Linked DNA regions of Homo sapiens: region 1 is linked to region 2. Evidence: promoter capture Hi-C in human tissues and cell types (Jung and others, 2019). All regions are on one chromosome and are shown on one strand. Each heading gives the region's core, a stretch centred on a gene start or on the middle of the fragment in contact. The rest is flanking DNA. Distances are from core to core; before and after follow the strand shown. Region 1 overlaps PDE6D (phosphodiesterase 6D). Region 2 holds the start of NMUR1 (neuromedin U receptor 1).

Region 1 (4,535 bases), core at 1,208-3,707, 250 kb before region 2:
AATTGTTTGTTAATTTTGTTTTTGCCCATTTTACTATTGTTTATTTTTCTTATTTGTAGATGTTCTTTACATATTGTAATATCAATCCTTTGCCTATTATGTATTTTGCAAATATTTTCTTTCAATGTATTGTCTCCTTTTTTGTTGAACAGAATTTTTAAATTGTCATTTCAAATTTATTTTATTTCATTTGTTTGAGACGGAGTCTTGGTCTGTTGCCCAAGTTGGAATGCAGTGGCGCAATCTTGGCTCACTGCAACCTCCGCCTCCCAGGTTCAAGCAATTCTCCTGCCTCAGCCTCCTGAGTAGCTGGGATTACAGGTGCATGCCACCATGCCCAGCTAATTTTTGTATTTTTAATAGAGATGGGGTTTCACCATGTTGGCCAAGCTGTTCTCAAACACCTGACCTCATGATCTGCCTGCCTCTGCCTCCCAAAGTGCTGGGATTACAGGCATGAGCCACCGTGCCTGGCCTCAAATTTATTAATATTTGCCATCTGGCTTTTGCATTTTGTATCTTGTTTAAAAAGATCTTTCTTATCCCAAGATTAACTAAATATCCTATCTTTTCTTCTCTTTTCAATGTTTAGCTCTTTAATCCACCTGGAACGTATTTACACATTTGGTATGTGGTAGACATCTAAGTACTTCTGCTGTTTGGATAGCCAATAGTTCCAGTACTATTTACTAAGTAGTTAGTCCATCTTTTCCTCACTGTTTTGAAATGCCATCCTTGTCATATACTAAATTTTCATAAGACATAGGTTTTTTTTTGGATTATTTCTGTTTCATTGATCTATTTGTCTCTTCTTGTACCTATACACATTTGATTGAATTATTATAGCTTTATAATATGATTTAGTATAGTTTACAATAGAATGGTCTGTGACTAACATAATATGTGTGTTTAAGGTCCCTACAAATATGTGCCCCTTTTGTTCACATGGAAGCTTGCCCATATGCCCATAGTAGATAGAAACATGAGGACTTGGCTGGGCATGGTGACTCACACCTGTAATCCCAGCACTTTGGGAGGCCTAGGTGGGAGGATTGCTCAAGGCCAGGAGTTCAAGACCAACCTGGCCAACATAGCGAGACCCCCAACTCTAAAAAAAAAAAATTTAAAGATACTGCATAAAAGTGAATACTGTATGCATAAATTAGGCATGGTCTGAGTGAATTCAGTAGAAGCTTTGTATTTGCCATCAGTTGTTTCAAAAACAAAATCTTATAAGATTTTATTCTTGTATCACCTTCACCCCATCTCACCCTACCTCTTTCAGAGTATCTGTTTTTGTGAGAAGAGTTTATCACTACAAAAAGAGCACCATTATGATCTCCTGCCAACAGTGTTGATAGTACTCAGTTTTCCACGTTGACTAGGTCAATCTTTTTTATTTTTGCCAGTTTGGACAACACATTGTTTCGATTTGTATTTTCCTGGATCCCTAGATCCATACAAGGTAATATAGCATAGTGGTTAAGAGCTATACTGGACTGTGGCGCTATACTACCTCTCAAGAAATGCAAGGCTCTCATACACATTAAGAACCTTGCATTTCTTTCTTGTTTGTTAAAAGCATAACATTTCCTAATTGTAAATTAATGTTATGAATGAAATGTTACTTGGGGAACAATATGATTCTCCTGCAAATATTTTGGATTTGATTATTTTAAGCAGCTGACATAGAGATTGATGTTTGTAAATCCCACGTTTCCCATTTCGTTCCTTCAACAAAGGTCTGTTGGGTGACTATTATGTATAGGGCACTCTACACTTGAAGGATACAAAAATGAATAACTTACAGTCCCTTCTTTCCAGAAGCTTAACCAGCTTTATGTCTGTTTAGAAGGAATATCTTCAAAAGCAATGCATTTTTTAAAATTCTATTTAATTTTCCTATTACAAACGCCAGCCACCTAGAGTGACCTTTGTAAATATTATTTAATATAGCCTTCTAATGTAGCTAATGTTTAATGTGTTTTTTATAAAAATGGAATTGTAAATATCACTTTGTAACTTACTTTGTTCACTTAATAATAGATTTACCATGTTTATGATTTCCAAAGATAGTTACTTTCAGTTGCTTTCACTGACAGATTTGTCACAGTACTCTTTTTTTTTTTTTTTTTTTTTTGAGACGGAGTCTTGCTCTTGTCACCCCGGCTGGAGTGCAGTGATGTGATCTCAACTCACTGCAACCTCTACCTCCGGAGTTCAAGCGATTCTCCTGCCTCAGCCTCCCAAGTAGCTGGGATTACAGGCACCTGCCACCACGCCCGGCTAATTTTTGTATTTTTAGTAGAGAGGGGGTTTCGCCATGTTGGCCAGGCTGGTCTCGAACTCCTGACCTCAGGCCTCCCAAAGTGCTGGGATTACAGGCGTGAGCCACTGCACCTAGCATTTGTCACAGTACTCTTATACTAGCTTTCTAGTATAGTCTGTATCTACTGTTTTGCCTATTTGAATAGCTTTTTCATCAACATAAAAATATAACTTTATTAAATTAACAAGAAACTGACAGACTTCCATAAGAATGAATTATGCTTTTATGATTTCATTATCTTTAATCCATCTGAATTTTCTTTGGTATAAGATACAGAGTAGTAATGTAGCTTTTTTTTAATATTGGCTTATTGTCTCCATTTATTTATTTAATTCATTTATACGTCAGATATTATAATATCCAGAATATAAATGGCTGCCTACAAATCAATAGGATAAGCATTTAACTCAAAGTGGACAAAGGATATGAACAAGCAGTTCCTAGAAGAAAAAGCAGATGACCAATGAATAAATGAGGACATGCTCAACCTTGTTAAAATAATAGACTATCTTCCGGGTGCAGGGGCTCATGCCTGTAATCCCAGCACTTTGGGAGGCCAAGGTGGGTGGATTGCTTGAGCCTAGAAGTTTGAGACCAGCCTAGGCAACATGGCAAGACCCCGCCTCTACAAAAAAAAAAAAAAAACACACACAAAAATTAGCCAGGTGTGGTGGTGCATGCTTGTGGTCCCAGCTACTGGGAGGCTGAGGTGAGGGGATCACCTGAGCCTGGGAGGTGGAGGTCGCAGTGAGCCAAGACTGTGCCCCACTGCATTCCAACCAGGGTAACAGAGTGAGACCCTGTCAATAATAATAATAATGGACTATCTCTTCCCAATTAATTGACACAGATTTAAAAGATTGATAATATATATGTATATCCTGAAAGTGGCACTGTACGAAAATAAAATTAAAAATTAGGCCAGGCACAGTGGTTCACGCCTGTAATCCCAACACTTTGGGAGACCAAGGTGGGCAGATCACTTGAGGCCAAGAGTTTGAGACCAGCCTGCCCAACATAGCAAAACTCCCTCTCTATTAAAAATACAAAAAATTAGCCAAACTTGGTGGCACACGCCTGTAATCCCAGCTGCTCAAGAGGCAGAGGCAGGACAATTGCTTGAACCCAGGAGGCAGAGGTTGCAGTGAGCTGAGATCACACCACTGCACTCCAGCCTGGGCTACAGAGTGAGACTCTGTCTCAAAAAAAATAAAAATAAAAATTTATTAAAAAAAAAAAAGATGCCAGGCACAGTGGCTCATGCCTGTAATGCCAGCACTTTGGGAGGCCAAGGTGGGCGGATTACTTGAGGTCAGGGATTCGAGGCCAGCCTGGCCAACATGGTGAAACCCCGTCTCTACTAAAAATACAAAAATTAGCTGGGCATGGTGTGGACAGCTGTAATCCCAGCTATTATTAGGGTGCCTGAGGCAGAAGAATCACTTGAACCTGGGAGGCCAAGGTTGCAATGAGCCGAGATTGCACCACTGCACTCCAGCCTGGGTGACAGAGAGAGACTCAGTCTCAAAAAAAAAAAAAGATAATATTCAGTGTTCACAACATTGAGGGAAAGGGGCACTCTCATTTGGTTTATGTGTGTGTGTGTAGTGTCTGTAGAAAGTAATTGGTATCTATCAAATGTTTACACATTACTGCAGTAGAGTATATAGCACAGTGGTTGAGAGTATGGGCTCACTTCCAAGGTTTAGACTTACTGCCTCTGCTATTGTGACTCTCAACAGAACACTCAGACTCTGAGCCTCAGCATCTGTATCTCATATTATCAGAGGGTTGTTTTGAGAATTAAATGAAACTGCATAAAAGATGTTTGGTTCAGGGCCTGGCATATAGTAATATCTGCTGCCATTCATTTTATTAATAATTACTAATAATAATGACAGGCCAGGTATAGTGGTTCATGCCTGTAATCCCAGCTCTTTGGGAGGCCGAGGTGGGTGGATCACCTGAGTTTGGGCATTCAAGACCAGCCTGGCCAACATGGTGAAATCCCGTCTCTACTAAAAATACAAAATTAGTCAGGCGTAGTGGTGTGCACCTGTAATCCCAGCTACTCGGGAGGCTGAGGCAGGAGAATTGCTTGAACCCAGGAGGTGGAGGTTGCAGTGAGCCGAGATCACGCCAGTGCACTCCAGCCTGGGTAACAGAGTGAGACTCCATCTCAATAATAATAATAATAATAATGACA
Region 2 (4,649 bases), core at 1,201-3,700:
CCCTCTTGGCTCTCAGGGACTCAGCAGGATGAGGAGGGGATACGGAGCTACTCACATGCCTCTGGCCCCATGAGTCCTGCACACGCCTGGGACTTGGGTGGTATCTCAGCAGCTCCTGGAGGTCCCAGTGGCCCTCCCTGAATGCATTTGCTGTTGTGCAGAGTTGGGTCCTTGGCCCCCTCATCTGGGCAGACGCCCACCAGCCAAGCTTAGATGGATGTGTACACCCAGAAAACTGGGGGGTGCCACCTCAGGACGGAGCAGGAGCAGCAGGATGTCATACGTTTCTGATGGGACACTACCGTGGTGGCCTTGAGCTCAGGCCCGGAGGCCAGGGCCCCTAGGGCCCTCTGCACAGTGCGGAAGTGAGGGCCACAGCCATTGTGGCCACTGAGCCTCTCCTTTTTGGGGGCTGCTCTTTAGCCTTTGATGGCTGCTAATGTTATGTGAATGATGCAACCCGCTGTAGGAATTCCTGACTGGCAAGAGTCATTCTGCCTCTGCAAGGCTAGGTGGGTCCTTCCCCATCCCCTCCAGGGCTGTGTGAACCAAAGGGTCCACGGGGACTTTCGGACTGCTCAGAGTCTGTGCAGAGTGGTATGTGTGTGCGCGTGTGTGTGGTGTGGTATGTGCAGAGTGATGTGTGCATGCATGTGTGTGTATGTGTGTGTACATGCATGTGCGTGTGTGTGTGTGTTCCAGTGAAGGGCTGGGGTCCAAATGCTCCTCACTTGCTAAGAGCAGCCTGTGATGCCACAGTGGTCTCTGATGCTGAGTGATGTCATCCCTCCTTGCCCGTCTGTTGTGCTGGCAGCCCTGTTACTGAGGATTTCTCCTGGACTAGCTCATCAGGGGCTGAGTAGTTAATTCCCAGGGCACCACAGAATCCTTTCTCCCAAGGCCCTGAGGACCACGTGCCCCTGCACTTCCCACAACCGTCCCCTGCCTGGGACTCTGTTTACATGTGGAGTTCCTGGGAAGGCCGGCCTGGTGCAGGCTCCTTGAGGGCCTAACTCCCATCCCCAAGCCCAGACAGTGACTTATGGAATTGGGGGGCAGTGGGGAGGAGGAGGGTGCAGGAAAGCGGGGGGAAGGAGGAGCCTCCAGTTGCCACTAAATGGTGACAATCCCACCCCACATTTCTTGAGTGTTGGCCATGTGCCAGCCCCTGTGCTGAATCTTGACGCTCAGTGTCTCATGTCACCTTCACAATAGTGGCGATGGTGGTTAGCCCATTCTACAGGAAGGGGAACTGAGGCACACAGAGCTTCTGAGCTCACGGTGGCCTCTCGGGGTCCTGTGGCTTTGTAACCTCTCCTGGTGCTCCTCAGTGTGATTCTGGGGCATGGGGCTCTCCAGAGGGCGTTTGTCAAACATGAGGATTTCTGGGCCTTGCCCAGGCTAAGGAGACAAAACTCTGGGCAAAGGCCCCGGAACCAGCATTTTACTCTGTGTGATCCGTCATTTCTAGGGTCCCTAGAAGTTTCTGATGAAACAGCTTCCAGCTAAGGAGCTGATTGCAGGACTAGGGAGTGGGAGCAGGTGAGGCACTGGGATTTGCATGTGGGCAGTGTGGGGGAGCAGGAGGCTGTGGCTGGGCATTCTTAACCCTTCCCTAAATTCCCTCCATCCTTGTCTATACCCCCACCCTTGGTACAGTGATGGGGGCAGAAGAACATTTGAACGGATAAGGGGGACAGTATTTGGGGCTGAGGACAATGGTGAGGAGAGGGTGGCCCAGGGAGGCAGGTGAGGAGTGGGGAGGTCCACCCCCAGGCTAGACTTTGGTGTGCTCTTTTTCAGAAGGCAGTGGGGGGGCCCCAAGGAAGGGTTTCGAGGGGGTGATGGTCGTTGGTGGCTGTGGGAGGATGGACTGGAGGGAGAATAGGGGGCTCTTGCCCAGTCCTGCAGGGCCGAGCGCCTGGACTCAGGGACTGGAGGCCCCGAAGGGAGCAGCGGGTGAGAGGGGCTGCGGAGGCTGCAATCATGGGCCTTGGGACAGAAGAAGAGGCCTGGAGCCTGGGAGGATGAACCGCACCGGGGCATGTCGACTTCAAGGGGCTGGTGGGCCGTCCCTGTCCTTGGAGGTGGGTCTGAATGGGGGGCAGGAGGAGCTGGAGGCCGCAGGGACACCGTGACGGCGTTAAGCTAAACTCAGCACGCTGGAGGGCGGGAATCACATGTGAGCCCCAGGTCTCTCGGGCTCCTCCTCTGCGGCTCTCTGAGGCTCAGTTTTCTCATCTGTAAAACGGGTTGTTGTGAGGGTTCCGTCAGATAACGCTGCTTGTGGAGGTGTCGCCTCCACGCTGCTTGTGGAGGTGTCGCCTCCAACGGCCGCGTCCTCCGCCAGTGCGGGAGGGGGCGCCGCCCGGGCTGCGGGGACTGCACTGCCCCCTGGCGGCGTTCCCGGCCGGACAGGCGGGGCGTCGGGGCGCGGGCTGGGGCCGCTGTCAGTCAGTCCACTGGCTCCCGCGCCGCGTCTGTGTCCGTCGCTCGGAGGGTGGAAGCCGGGGTCTCGCGGGCCGCGGGCCGCATGGTAGGTGCGCAGGCGCCGGCGTGGGCTAGGGCGCGGCAGCTGGGCCGGGGCTCGGTGCGGGCAGGGTCGTCCTAGGGCGGGAAGGGTCCGAGGGCTCCGTCGGGGTGCCCCCCGTCCCCGCCACCGGGGAGCCTCGCAACTTCTCGGGTCATTTGTGTCTTCCGGCCAGGGGCGCCGGGGGGCTGCGGGCTTGCGACCCTTCCTCGAGGACCAGGGCGCCTCCCTTGAACCCGGGCTGGCGCCTGCGCGTTCCCAACTGGTTCCCGAGGCTCCCGCGCTGCTGTGCAGCGGGGGTGAGGGCGGGCGGGAGGAAGGGTGTGGGGCTCAATAGAGGAGAGGGAACCCCAGAACTGGCAGTGCCAAGGGCGTCAAATATGGAGACTGAACAGTTCAGGTGACAGAAAACAGAAAAAAGAATCAACTTGTGGATGAAGCATTTGTAGTGTGTAGCCTTGACACTCCCTCACTTGACTCTCATAGTGACTGGGTCCCCAGAGCAAGGGGGTGATCCCCGTGCCCTTCCGTATGCCAGGCAGGCCCTGTGTTAATGTCTTTAATGGATTAAACTCCCTGGATCCTCCTAATAGGGAAACAGCCTCAGAGAGGTTACCTCGCTAAAGGTCACACAGCCTGGAACTGGGGAGGCTGGATTCGAATCCAGGCAGTTGCTTCCTGAGCGCTTGCTCTTGAAGACCCTGCAATACCAGGCATTGTGCCCATTTTACAGATGCCCAAACGAGTGCCTCATCTAGCATCATTGCTTGAAAGAGGAGACACCCAAGATCTGTCATTTACTCAAAGGTTCCAATAGATCATGAAATTTAAAATCAAAACCCCACGTGTTTTTTTTTTTTTAAATGTAGATTTTTACTTTTTCGTTGTTTGCTTTTTGTTTTTTTGAGACAAGGTCTTTCTCTGTTGCCCAGGCTGGAGTCCGGTGGCACAATCTCCGCTCACTGCAACCTCTGTCTCCTGGGTTCAAACAATTCTCCCGCCTCAGCCTCCCAAGTAGCTGGAATTACAGGCGTGTGCTACCACGCCCGGCTACTTTTTGTATTGTTAGTAGAGACGGGGTTTCACCATATTGGCCAGGCTGGTCTTGAACTCCTGATCTCAAGTGATCCGCCTGCCTCGACCAAAGTGTTGGGATTACAGGTGTGAGCCACTGCACCAAGCTTATTTTTACATCTCTGACTTGTGGATGGAAGAGTTTTTTCTTTCTCAGTGGTGCCTAAAATAATGGTCATCATAGCGCTAATGTCACCTTTGGCTTGATGAGTGAGGACAGAGCCAGCATTCCCTGAATGATCTTTCTGGGCATCTCTCCCCTCTGTTCCACAGACTCCTCTCTGCCTCAATTGCTCTGTCCTCCCTGGAGACCTGTACCCAGGGGGTGCAAGGAACCCCATGGCTTGCAATGGCAGTGCGGCCAGGGGGCACTTTGACCCTGAGGACTTGAACCTGACTGACGAGGCACTGAGACTCAAGTACCTGGGGCCCCAGCAGACAGAGCTGTTCATGCCCATCTGTGCCACATACCTGCTGATCTTCGTGGTGGGCGCTGTGGGCAATGGGCTGACCTGTCTGGTCATCCTGCGCCACAAGGCCATGCGCACGCCTACCAACTACTACCTCTTCAGCCTGGCCGTGTCGGACCTGCTGGTGCTGCTGGTGGGCCTGCCCCTGGAGCTCTATGAGATGTGGCACAACTACCCCTTCCTGCTGGGCGTTGGTGGCTGCTATTTCCGCACGCTACTGTTTGAGATGGTCTGCCTGGCCTCAGTGCTCAACGTCACTGCCCTGAGCGTGGAACGCTATGTGGCCGTGGTGCACCCACTCCAGGCCAGGTCCATGGTGACGCGGGCCCATGTGCGCCGAGTGCTTGGGGCCGTCTGGGGTCTTGCCATGCTCTGCTCCCTGCCCAACACCAGCCTGCACGGCATCCGGCAGCTGCACGTGCCCTGCCGGGGCCCAGTGCCAGACTCAGCTGTTTGCATGCTGGTCCGCCCACGGGCCCTCTACAACATGGTAGTGCAGACCACCGCGCTGCTCTTCTTCTGCCTGCCCATGGCCATCATGAGCGTGCTCTACCTGCTCATTGGGCTGCGACTGC

The links. Contacts are between HindIII fragments. The study calls those that stand out against the background at their distance.
Region 1: a contact is called between a fragment that was not itself captured here and the fragment with the promoter of NMUR1 in region 2, in 2 of the 25 tissues and cell types used here (aorta and lymphoblastoid cells).

Annotation. Positions count from the first base shown.
Region 1 is chr2:231,773,927-231,778,461 of GRCh38, reverse strand. All of the region lies in intron 1 of PDE6D (phosphodiesterase 6D), which reads left to right. Among named protein-coding and RNA genes, the nearest start is that of PDE6D, 5.1 kb to the left of the region's middle. The HindIII fragment of the contact is 7,341 bases long and covers 1-4,535 here.
Region 2 is chr2:231,528,246-231,532,894 of GRCh38, reverse strand. It overlaps NMUR1 (neuromedin U receptor 1), which reads left to right and starts at 2,450. Exons shown (of 3, transcript NM_006056.5): 1 at 2,450-2,536; 2 at 3,878-4,649. The coding sequence starts at 2,534. It overlaps LOC105376787 (a long non-coding RNA gene), which reads right to left and starts at 725. Exons shown (of 4, transcript XR_001739928.2): 1 at 56-725. RefSeq lists enhancers at 764-1,498, 3,988-4,514, 4,515-4,649 and a silencer at 2,193-2,622. The HindIII fragment of the contact is 18,375 bases long and covers 1-4,649 here.